Linked DNA regions of Homo sapiens: regions 1 and 2 are each linked to region 3. The links are contacts of gene promoters, found by promoter capture Hi-C in human tissues and cell types (Jung and others, 2019). All regions are on one chromosome and are shown on one strand. Each heading gives the region's core, a stretch centred on a gene start or on the middle of the fragment in contact. The rest is flanking DNA. Distances are from core to core; before and after follow the strand shown.

The links. Contacts are between HindIII fragments. The study calls those that stand out against the background at their distance.
Region 1: a fragment that was not itself captured here is called in contact with the fragment with the promoter of MAZ in region 3 in 1 of the 25 tissues and cell types used here (dorsolateral prefrontal cortex).
Region 2: a contact is called between a fragment that was not itself captured here and the fragment with the promoter of MAZ in region 3, in 1 of the 25 tissues and cell types used here (dorsolateral prefrontal cortex).

Annotation. Positions count from the first base shown.
Region 1 is chr16:29,997,059-30,000,692 of GRCh38, forward strand. All of the region lies in intron 3 of INO80E (INO80 complex subunit E), which reads left to right. Among named protein-coding and RNA genes, the nearest start is that of INO80E, 2.6 kb to the left of the region's middle. The HindIII fragment of the contact is 4,005 bases long and covers 34-3,634 here.
Region 2 is chr16:29,614,469-29,618,688 of GRCh38, forward strand. It overlaps the pseudogene CA5AP1. Among named protein-coding and RNA genes, the nearest start is that of MIR3680-2, 17 kb to the left of the region's middle. RefSeq lists enhancers at 1-302, 303-987. The HindIII fragment of the contact is 8,893 bases long and covers 1-4,220 here.
Region 3 is chr16:29,805,028-29,808,779 of GRCh38, forward strand. MAZ (MYC associated zinc finger protein) reads left to right here and starts at 1,502. Exons shown (of 5, transcript NM_002383.4): 1 at 1,502-1,866; 2 at 1,951-2,801; 3 at 3,203-3,266; 4 at 3,543-3,714. The coding sequence starts at 1,675. KIF22 (kinesin family member 22) reads left to right here. Exons shown (of 14, transcript NM_007317.3): 13 at 88-147; 14 at 236-357. The coding sequence ends at 283. It overlaps MVP-DT (MVP divergent transcript), which reads right to left. Exons shown (of 4, transcript NR_186424.1): 4 at 3,617-3,752. RefSeq lists silencers at 3-52, 793-1,132, 1,263-1,402, 2,303-2,972 and enhancers at 433-482, 3,053-3,292. The HindIII fragment of the contact is 10,316 bases long and covers 1-3,752 here.

The DNA of each region.
Region 1 (3,634 bases), core at 786-3,285, 190 kb after region 3:
ACAGGGGATACAGCAGAGGCAGAGATAGGCAAAGCCCTTGGCCTCTTGTAATTTATATTCTAGTTGGGAAGAATAAGTAAATGAAGACAATAGACTAGAATTTTAGGTCATAGGAAGGACTTGAAGGTAATGAAAACAGTTATGCGGTAATGATTATAGTAGAACAGGGGTTGATGAATTGTTTCTGCAAAGGGCCAGATGGTAAGTAAGCTTTTTGCAACATACAATCTTTGAAGCACCTACTGAACTCTGCCATTGTAGTAGCAGCCGTACCCCATAGGCAAATACATGAGTATGGCTATGTTTCTATAAAACTTTATAGGCACTGAAATTTGAATTTCATATTTTTCCATATGAAAAATTTTTCTTTAGTTTTTTTTTTTTCCAACCGTTTAAAAGCTTAAAAGCCATTCTTGGCCAGGTGCAGTGGCCCACGCCTGTAATCCCAACACTTTGGGAGGCCGAGGTGGGCGGATCACAAGGTCGGGAGTTCAAGACCAGCCTGACCAACATGGTGAAACCTCGTCTCTACTAAAGATACAAAAATTAGTCGGGTGTGGTGGCGTGCACCTGTAATCCCAGCTACTGGGGAGGCTGAGGCAGGAGAATCATTTGAACCCTGGAGGCAGAGGTTGCAGTGAGCCGAGATCGCTGCCACTGCATTCCAGCCTGGGTGACAGGGCGAGACTCCGTCTCAAAAAAAAAAAAAAACGCCCTTCTTAGCTTGCAGACCACACAAGCAGGCAGCAGGCAACCTCTGAATGGAGTACTCAAGAAAGGCCTTTCACAGAGTGACATTTGAGTTGGGACCAGAGAAGAAACCAGCCTTCCATCCTGGGCAACATAGTGAGACCCCATCTCAATTAAAAAAAAATTAGCCATGTATAGTGGTGTATACATGTGGTCCCAGCTACTTGGGAGGCAGAACCAGGAGGATCCCTTGCCTGAAAGGTCAAGGCTGCAGTGAGCCATGATAGCACCGCTGTGCTCCAGCCTGGGTGACAGAGCAAGACTGTCTCAAAAGAAAGAAACCCCATCCTGGCTAACACAGTGAAACCCTGTCTCTACTAAAAATACAAAAAGTTAGCCGGGGATGTTGGTGGGCACCTGTAGTCCCAGTTACTCGGGAGGCTGAGGCAGAAGAATGGCGTGAACCTGGGAGGTGGAGCTTGCAGTGAGCTGAGATTGCACTACTGCAGTCCAGCCTGGGCAACAGAGCCAGACTCCATCTCAAAAAAAAAAAAAAAACAAAAACCAATCTTGTGAAGAAGTGGGCTAGAGCTGTCCCGGCAGAATAATATAAATGCAGCTACCCTGAGGTAAGAACAGGTCAGGCTTGGTTGAAGAGCAGAGGCATGAAAGAGAGAGAACACTGTTTTCGTCCTTTTATTTGAATATTGTCTGCAGTTAACTATATTTTACATCATAACCAGGGCCCCACATGTTAAACAAAACAAAGTTTAACGAAACATTTTTAAGATCACTGTATCCAATTCATCCTGACACTTTTTAGACTGCTTTTTTCCCCTTCTTTTAATGCTGGTTGCAAACCAATAAATTGATTTCATGACCCACTAATGGCTTGAGACCCACAGTTTGAAAAAGCCCTAAGGTAGGCATTTGTGGGCCTCTTCCTGGGTGAGGCCCTCGTAAGCCATGTCACGTAGAATCACCTCTCTCCGTGGTGCCTTTAAACATTGGTCTGGGCCGGGCACGGTGGCTCACGCTTGTAATCCCAGCACTTTGGGAGGCCGAGGCAGGCAGATCACGAGGTCAGGAGATCGAGACCGTCCTGGCTAACATGGTGAAACCCCGTCTCTACTAAAAATACATAAAATTAGCTGGGTGTGGTGGCGGGCGCCTGTAGTCCCAGCTACTCAGGAGGCTGAGGCAGAAGAATGGTGTGAACCCGGGAGGCGGAGCTTGCAGTGAGCCGAGATTACGCCACTGCACTCCAGCCTGGGCAACAGAGCAAGACTCCGTCTCAAAAAAAAAAAAAAGCACATTGGTCTGAGGCAGGGATTGGCATGTGGCAGCCAGCCACGTTTTAGGACGTAGTGTTTTGTCAGAACGCATGATACCCATTTGCTTGTTATTATAGGAGGATTGTAGATAAGGTTGGGGAAATAGGCAGGGGCCCACTCAGGTAGGTCATAGTAGGAGATTTGGCTTTTATTGTAGCCTCTCATCCCCTGCCTCTTCCTTCCCTAGGGGCTTCCAGTTAACATCCTGTTTGAGGGGAATTCAGGGCAGGAGGTGGGAGAGAACCCAGCATGTTCATGGCCAGAGTGGGTTGCATCTGAGGAGGAAGAGCCAGCGATGCGAGCCCCACTCCCGTCCTGGAGGCCCACGCCCTGGCCAGGGAGACACTCGCAAACGACGCTTTTCAGCACAGTGTGAGGGCAGCCATGACGAGAGTAGAGCGTTCCAGGAGAGCCTGCAGTTAACTGGGCTTGAGGGATTCTGGAAGACTTCACAGAGGAGGTGGCATTTAATCTGCTTCTTAAAGGGTCTGTCTGAGCAGAGACATTGGTAACGGCTTCTATAGGTGTAGCAGTCGTTTGTTCGATGAAAGATGGCCCTTCTAGGCAGAGGCACTGAACTAGGAAATACATTTCTTTTTTGACGAAATAGGTCAGTGTGCTTTAAAGAATACAGTTACGTTAGTTGACCAGAAAGGTACATTGAAGCCAGATTAAGCAGCACCATGAATTCATGCAGGTAGTGGGTGATGTCATCAGGAAGGATGTGACCAGGTTTGTTTTAGGTCACTCTGGGGTTGGGGGTGGACAGTGGGTGGCACGGTGAGGTGAGACTGCTTAGCAGGTGATTTTGACGTGCTGGTGGCCTGACCTGTGTTAGTTGGTGTGGGGAGCAGTGGATGAAGGGGAGGACTTCAGGGGTAGATGAACAGGACCCTGGTTATGGGGAGTGGGGCAGAGGCAGGAGTTGAAGACTGCTCAGCTCAGAGGCAAGGAACCAGTGGCATCAAACAGCCAAGGAGTCACAGACCTGGCTTGGAGTCTTAGCCTCACACCTTACTTTCTGAGCCTCGGTGACCTCATGTGACAAGTGGAGGTGCTGCCCTTCCCATCCTTCCTTGGATCTGATGACAAGGAGAGGTGGTGAGTGGGAAAGAGCCTGGCACCCTGGCCATGCGTGGCAGGTGTGTTACGGAGGAACCAGAGCGGGCGGGGGGCTGGGGAGGCTGGAGAGGCTATGGGCCTCCCTGGGACAGCTCGAGTGTGTGGTGCATGCGTGTGCCCACCAGCTGGTGAGTCAGATTCCCCCGGGGCCCTTCTGTTAGGTTTTGGTTTGTTTCATTTTTTTGAGGCAGGGTCTTGCTCTGTCACCCAGGCTGGCGTGCAGTGTTAAAATCACAGCTCACTGCAGTCTCAATCTCCGAGTAGTTCTCCTGCCTCAGCCTCCTGAGTAGCTGGGACTACAAGCACACGCCACCATGCTCGGATAATTGTTTTTGTTTTTAATAGAGATGAGGTCTTGCTAGGTTGTCCAGGCTGCTCTTGAACTCCTGGCCTCAAGCGATCTGGCCACCTCAGCCTCTCACAGTGCTGGGATTCCAGGCGTGAGCCCCCGCACCTGGTCTTCCAGTGCCCTTCTGTAGTGTAGAGGA
Region 2 (4,220 bases), core at 487-2,986, 190 kb before region 3:
CCATAAGACCCCCACCCCCAAATCTAGCTGGGGAATTCAAAGGCAGGCTTCAGTGTGAAGGGGCTTTAAAGCTTGTTATTCCTGGGGAATGCGAGAGGCATCTTAGCTAAAAAGGGTTGAGAGGTAATTTCAGTTAGAGGCGAGAGCAGGATGCCAAGGCTCCTAGGCCTGGAAACGGGAAGGAATATAAATACTGCCCCGAGATTGACCAGACTGGTGAGCAGCCAAAGACCTCTTCAAAGGGTGTGTGTGGGTCAGGGAGGAAGCTCCTCGGTATCACCCCCACCCGGGGTTCCTTGGCGTGTGTCCTAACGAGTCCTTGGAAGCTCACAGCAGGCATGTGGGGAGGCCTTTGTTCTGGGTGAGCGTTCAGCCTCCCAGGGCAAACACGCAAACACCGGTTGCAGAGCTGGGTGTTCACAGCAAGACAGTCTGCTGGGCAGATGCCTCTGGAATCCACAGAATCCTGAACAATAGCCGTGGTGGAGGGGGGGTCAGAATCCCTGTCATGCTGGGACCTCTAGCTGCAGCCAGGAATGTCCAGGCCCCACCCCGGGGAGGAGGCGGCTGAGGAATGCCACGGCTTGTCATTCTGGACCTTGCTCGCCCCCCGGTATGGCGGGCATTCCTCTGCAGTGATAAAACCAAGCGAAATCTCAGCAGCCCAGGCAGCCACCGGCAGGGGAGTGCGGAGGTCACACAGATACTAACTTGTAATCTGCCGTCCACGCTGCTGGCTGTGGAAGGTGCAGAGAGCCCTCCATCCGCCCTATTCTTCCCGCTGTGCCTGCAGAGGGAAGGAGACAGTACCACCATGGCTGGGCAAACTCACCGAGTGCTCACTGAGTCCTCCCCTAGATAGCTTCTTGTGCAATAGGGTAGGTGCCAGTTAGGAGCAAGGTTAGAGATTGTAGGGCCAGATTTTTTGCTTAGGTTCAACTACGCAAAATAAAAATAGACTTTGCATGCATTTCAGGCACTGGGCTGACGACCGGCCACCAGGGAGGCTCCGCCCCACTTCTTAGCTTTGGCCCCAACGTTAGTCTTGTTGCTGCTCTCAGGCGTGCTCTGCGTGTGAAAGATGACTTGGAGGCTGGGCGCGGTGGCTCACGCCTGTAATGCCAGCCCTTTGGGAGACCAAGGTGGGAAAATCTCTTGAGCCCAGGAGTTCAAGACCAGCCTGGGCAACATAGGGAGACCCCGTCTCTACAAAAAATACAAAAACTAGCCCAGCGTGGTGGTGGTGCACCTGTAGTCCCAGCTGCTGGGGAGGCTGAGGTAGAAGGATCACCTGAGCTGGGGAAGGTTGAGGCTGCAGTGAGCTGAGATCACACCACTGCACTCCAGCCTGGGTGACAAAGCAAGACTCCATCTCAAAAACAAAACAAAACAAAAAATAACAAAAAAAAAGAGGGTGAAAGGCAGCCCCAGAGTGGGAGAAGAGATTTGTAAAATGGACAAAGGCCTTATAATTGGAATATATAAAGAACTCCTAAAAATCACTAAGAAAACCACAGACAGCCCAAGAGAAAAATGGGCAAATGGCTCAAGTAGGTGTCTGGTGAAAGAGGATATGCAGATGGCCAATGAATCTGCACAAAGTGCTCCACATCATTAATCATTAGGGAAGTGCAAATTAAATCCACAGGAGACACCTGGGCACACCCTCCAGAAAGCACACAATGACCTGCTGGCAAGGACAGGAACGACCACTTTGGAAAACTCTTTGGCAGCACAGCCAAACTGAGCCTTTCCACTCGAAAATGCCCTTTGCTCAGAACCCAGCAGCAGCTCCAAAGTCTCCACCCAGCCTATCGGGCCCCAGTACCCACCCTTGCCTCCCATGCCTCTCTCCTCACCCCTGCACTTGGCTGCCTCACCCTCGGGCTGCACCTTGAACACCAGAAGGGCGCTCCTGCCTCCAGCCTCTGCCTGGAATTCTCTGCCCTCGGGTAGCCATGTGGTTCACTCCTCCTTTGGTCTCTGCCCAAATGGCCCCTGTAGAAGAGACCTCCCCACCCAGCCATGTCCTCTCCCTGTGACTTACCACCCCAGACTTTCTGTGTTGATGCATCGTGGTCTACCTCCTTCCGTCAGAACGTGAGCTCCGAGGCAAAGGCTCTTCAGACCTGAAACAGTCTAGGCTCTGTCCCCAGAGTCTAGAATAGAGCCTGCCATGTAATTGGCACTCAATAAATGTTACATGAATTAATGGAAACCATCCTGGCACGAGTGGTAGCTCTCTTTCCACCAAAAGAATGAGCTTGCCAAGAGAGAGAGACAACATCACGAAAGAGAGACAGAAAAGCCACACTCAGACCCAACTTTGAGTTCTGGATCAAGTCTTTTTTTTTTTTTTTTTTTTTGAGACAAAGTTTCGCTCTTGTTTCCCAGGCTGGAATGCAATGGCGCGATCTCGGCTCACTACAACCTCTGCCTCGCGGGTTCAAGCAATTCTCCTGCCTCAGCCTCCCGAGTAGCCGGGATTACAGGCATGCACCACCAAGCTCGGCTAATTTTGTATTTTTAGTAGAGATGGGGTTTCTCCATGTTGGTCAGGCTAGTCTGGAACTTGGCCTCCCAAAGTGCTGGGTTTACAGGCGTGAGCCACAGCGCCTGGCTCCTATGTTATTTTTTAGGAGCTTTATTGTTTTACCTTTCCTATTTAGATCTATAGTCTGTCAGGAATTAATTTTTGTGTGTGCTGTGAGGTAGGGGTGTGAGGTATGGTGAGAAAAAAGATTCATGGTTCCCCATTTGGATATCCCGTTGGCTCGGTGGGGTGGCTCATGCCTGTAATCCCAGCACTTTGGGAGGTCAAAGCAGGAGAACTATTGGAGCTCAGGGGTTCAGGACCAACCTGGGCAACATAATGAGACCCTGTGGATCAACAGATGAATTGATCGATCAATCAATACGTAGATAGATAAGTATCCAAATGATCCAAAACTATTCACAGAAAAGCCCAACCATTCCCTACAGCATGACTCAGGGATCACAAATGTGTGGAACCTTCTAGACATGCTATTCTTTTTCATTGGTTGATTTGTCCTTCTCTGACAGGTACCACATTATCTTAATTAATATAGCTTTTTATTTTTATTTATTTATTTTAGATGGAGTCTCACTCTGTCGCCCAGGCTGGAGTGCAGTGGCGTGATCTCAGCTCACTGCAAGTTCTGCCTCCCGGATTCAAGCGATTCTCCTGCCTCAGTCTCCTGAGTAGCTGGGATTACAGGCATGAGCCACCGCACCTAGCTAATTTTTGTATTTTTAGCAGAGACAGGGTTTCGCCATGTTGGCCAGGCTGGTGTCGAACTTCTGACCTCAGGTGATCTTCCCACCTCGGCCTCCCAAAGTGCTGGGATTACAGGCATGAGCCACTGCGCCTGGCCTACTATAGCTTTTGAAATAGGTCTTGACATCAAATTGTGTGTGTTTTCTGGTTTTATCCTGCCAGATTACTTTTGGTTGTATTTTTGGTAGAGACGGGGTTTCACCATGTTGGCCAGGCTGGTCTCAAACTTCTGACCTCAAGTGATCCACCTGCCTCGGCCTCCCAAAGTGCTGGGATTACAGGCGTGAACCACTGTGCCTGGCCTCACAAGAATTCCTTTTTATTTTGAGACGGAGTTTTGCTCTTGTTGCCCAGGCTGGAGTGCAATAGTGCAATCTTGACTCACTGCAACCTCTGCCTCCCGGGTTCAAGCAATTCTCCTGCCTCAGCCTCCCAAGTAGCTGGGATTACAGACACGCACCCAGCTAATGTTTGTGTTTTTTATAGAGACAGGGTTTCACCGTGTTGGCCAGGATGGTCTCGATCTCCTGACCTCGTGATCCACCCACCTCGGCCTCCCAAAGTGCTGGGATTAAAGGCGTGAGGCAATGCGCCCGGCCAGGAGTTTTTACAAGGAGGAAGCTGAAGCTGGAAAGGCACGGAAAAGGATCCTCCCCTAGAGCCTCAGAAGGAAGCAGCCGTGCGGACACCTTGGTGTCAGGCTTCTGGCTCACTGAACCGTAAGAGAATCAGTCTCCATTGTTTTAAGCCACCAAGTTTGTGGTACTTTGTTACAGTGAAACTAAGCACCCTGCACTTGCGTTGGGTGCCATGGCACACCCCTCCATCCCAGCGTTATGTTCCCCACGGTACTTACACATCTTTCTTTCACTTGCAGCTGAAACGTACTTTGACTAAAACAATAACCTCATTCTCTCTTTTT
Region 3 (3,752 bases), core at 252-2,751:
TAGCAGCCCACTGGACTGGGGGAGGGCGGGGGCGGGGGAGACCGGGTACCCCCGAGACCCTGTCCCCTATCGATCCTGTCCCGCCAGGTGGAGGACCTGGAACGCGTGGAGGGCATAACGGGGAAACAGATGGAGTCCTTCCTGAAGGTGAAGTCACGGCCCTGCCCCTCCTCTGCCTGTCCTGCGCCCCGCGCCCCTCTCTAACGTCGCTGTCTCCCTCCCTCCTGTGTTGCAGGCAAACATCCTGGGTCTCGCCGCCGGCCAGCGCTGTGGCGCCTCCTGACCGTCGTCTCCTCACTCCGCCTTTTCAAATTTTTGTATAACCCCGTGTTGTGTAAATACAGTTTTTGCTCCGGTGCTTCCGCCTGATTTTTGGGGCTGCGGGGGCGGGACCGGGGTGTGACCGCCTCGGGGTGGGCCGCGAGCAAGGCAGGCGACTCCACTGGGCGCCATCTTCGGGGAACGACTCAGCGCAGGATTGTAAATACACCGCTGGGGTGGGGCGGGGAGGACGGTGGCCTGCAGGACGCAAAAAGCGGAAGCCGAAGCATGAGGCCTGCGACCGTTAGGCGGGCGCGCGCTCAGGGATTAGCCCCGCCCCGTCCGTGCCCCCGGCGCGCGCGCTCCCCCATTCTCCCGCTCGGCAACGACGGCGGCCTTGTGCGCGTGCGCGCGAAATAACGGCCGCTGGCGGAGGGAGGGGGAGTGGAATCGTTGGCGGGGGGAAGAGGAGAGAAGCCGCCCTGTCTCCCGCGCGCCCACCACCTGCGCCATCGTCAGCCAATCAGCAGCCGTCTCAGGGGTCTCGCGCTCGGGGCGACTCGGGCTGCTGGGTGGCTCCCCCGTCCCTCCTCCCGCCAGAGTCCCTCTCGCGCCTGCCCCTCCCGCTGGCCACGCGCGCGCTCGCGCTAGCGCTCGCGCCCGCTCCAGCCTCTTGTGTGTCCTCGCGCCCCCCGCCCGCCCTCCCCGCGCGTAGTGTGCTCCGCTTCCCCCACCCTCCACCTCCCCCCTCCTGCCCGCCCCGCGCGCCTCCTCCCGGGTTCCCCCTCCCCCACCGCCGCCGCCTCCTCCTCCCGCCCCAGGGTGAGCGCGAGCCACCTCCCTCCCTCCCTCCGCCATGGATCCCAGCAACTGGAGCAGCTTCATCTTCCAGGTAACAACTCCCTCCCCCCGCCCCCACCCCCCTGCCCACACCCCCTCCTGCCCGCCCTCCCTCCCGTCCCACCCCCCCTCCGCGCGCCCGGTGCGCGCGCAGCTGTCCCCCTCCCTCCCTCGCGCCCTCCCCCGCCCTCCCCGAGGCGCCGGCTGGGCGCGCGCGCGGCGGGGGCCGAGGCTGCTCCCTCGCTCCCCCCACCCCGCCCCGCCAGGCTCCAACCGCCGCCGCCGCCGCCGCCGCCGCCCGGGCCCCCGCCCCCGGCCCCGGCCCCGCGGGGCCTCCCGCCCCCACCCAGGGGGCGTCGCCGCCGCCGTCGCCGCGGCGCTCCGCGGCCCGCAAGGCGCCCTCTTTTCCTCCCTCCCGCCGGCCGGGGTGCGCGGGCGGCGGGGCGGCCCGCGGGCCATGCGTTCGGCGCGGCCCAGCCCGGCCGGCCGGGGGCGGCGCCCCGAGCCCGGGCCCCGCGCGGCCCGCGCCCCCGGCCCCCGCTGAGCCCCGGGGGCCCCGCTGCGGCCGAGGCCATGTTCCCGGTGTTTCCTTGCACGCTGCTGGCCCCCCCCTTCCCCGTGCTGGGCCTGGACTCCCGGGGGGTGGGCGGCCTCATGAACTCCTTCCCGCCACCTCAGGGTCACGCCCAGAACCCCCTGCAGGTCGGGGCTGAGCTCCAGTCCCGCTTCTTTGCCTCCCAGGGCTGCGCCCAGAGTCCATTCCAGGTGAGTAGGGCCGGCCGCGGCGGCCCGGGCTGGGGGGGGACGCCCGCCCGCACCCGCGGCCCACTCGGCGCCTTGTCTCCGCAGGCCGCGCCGGCGCCCCCGCCCACGCCCCAGGCCCCGGCGGCCGAGCCCCTCCAGGTGGACTTGCTCCCGGTGCTCGCCGCCGCCCAGGAGTCCGCCGCGGCTGCTGCGGCCGCTGCCGCCGCTGCTGCCGCCGTCGCTGCCGCGCCCCCGGCCCCTGCCGCCGCCTCTACGGTGGACACAGCGGCCCTGAAGCAGCCTCCGGCGCCCCCTCCGCCACCCCCGCCAGTGTCGGCGCCCGCGGCCGAGGCCGCGCCCCCCGCCTCCGCCGCCACTATCGCCGCGGCGGCGGCCACCGCCGTCGTAGCCCCAACCTCGACGGTCGCCGTGGCCCCGGTCGCGTCTGCCTTGGAGAAGAAGACAAAGAGCAAGGGGCCCTACATCTGCGCTCTGTGCGCCAAGGAGTTCAAGAACGGCTACAATCTCCGGAGGCACGAAGCCATCCACACGGGAGCCAAGGCCGGCCGGGTCCCCTCGGGTGCTATGAAGATGCCGACCATGGTGCCCCTGAGCCTCCTGAGCGTGCCCCAGCTGAGCGGAGCCGGCGGGGGAGGGGGAGAGGCGGGTGCCGGCGGCGGCGCTGCCGCAGTGGCCGCCGGTGGCGTGGTGACCACGACCGCCTCGGGGAAGCGCATCCGGAAGAACCATGCCTGCGAGATGTGTGGCAAGGCCTTCCGCGACGTCTACCACCTGAACCGACACAAGCTGTCGCACTCGGACGAGAAGCCCTACCAGTGCCCGGTGTGCCAGCAGCGCTTCAAGCGCAAGGACCGCATGAGCTACCACGTGCGCTCACATGACGGCGCTGTGCACAAGCCCTACAACTGCTCCCACTGTGGCAAGAGCTTCTCCCGGTGTGCACGGGGCCTCGGCCGCCCGCTAGGCCGTGGGGAGGGAGGGACGCGACGGAGGTGGCCTGGCCGTGGCTGGCGGGGAGGGAGGCGGCTGCTGAGGCTGGGGAAGGGGAGCCACTCCCAGGGCGGAGGGAGGAAGCCTCTCCCGGTTACCAGGGAGCAAGGGGTGGTCCTTTGTCGAGGAGGTGGGCCTTGGGGTTGACGGAAGCTTCGCGTGGGAGGAGGCGGCGGCGGCGGCAGCGGCTGCTGGGCTCCAGGGGAGGGATTTCCTGCTTAAGTGTCGCTGTGACGGCCTGGGCTCCGGGAGGAGGCGCAGGGATCCTCGGAAAGGCCTGTGGTGCGGTTTGGTGGATTTGGGGCGCACCACCTCCGCCCTAACCCCAACCCCAACGTGTCCCCAGGCCGGATCACCTCAACAGTCACGTCAGACAAGTGCACTCAACAGAACGGCCCTTCAAATGTGAGGTAGGAAGCCCGCCTCCTCCTGTCTTGGTTTTCATGATTTTGATCCTCATGGTAGCTGTCTGAGTCAGTCTCTCAGACCCCCTTTTTCTCTCTCTTCTTTTTGCCTTTTTGCTCCATTTTCTCATCCCTTCTTCAAGGCCTCATCATGTCACTCCCATTTCCTACAGATCAAAGATCCCCAAGGCTCTGATTCCTTTAATCTCTTGCTCCCCCCTCCCCAGCCCACCAAGCTTTAACTCTCCTGTGACACCCCCCACGCCCCTCCCCCCTCCTCAGAAATGTGAGGCAGCTTTCGCCACGAAGGATCGGCTGCGGGCGCACACAGTACGACACGAGGAGAAAGTGCCATGTCACGTGTGTGGCAAGATGCTGAGCTCGGCTTATATTTCGGACCACATGAAGGTGCACAGCCAGGGTCCTCACCATGTCTGTGAGCTCTGCAACAAAGGTACATGCCGAGGGCTGCCGGGAGGGCCAGGGGCAGAG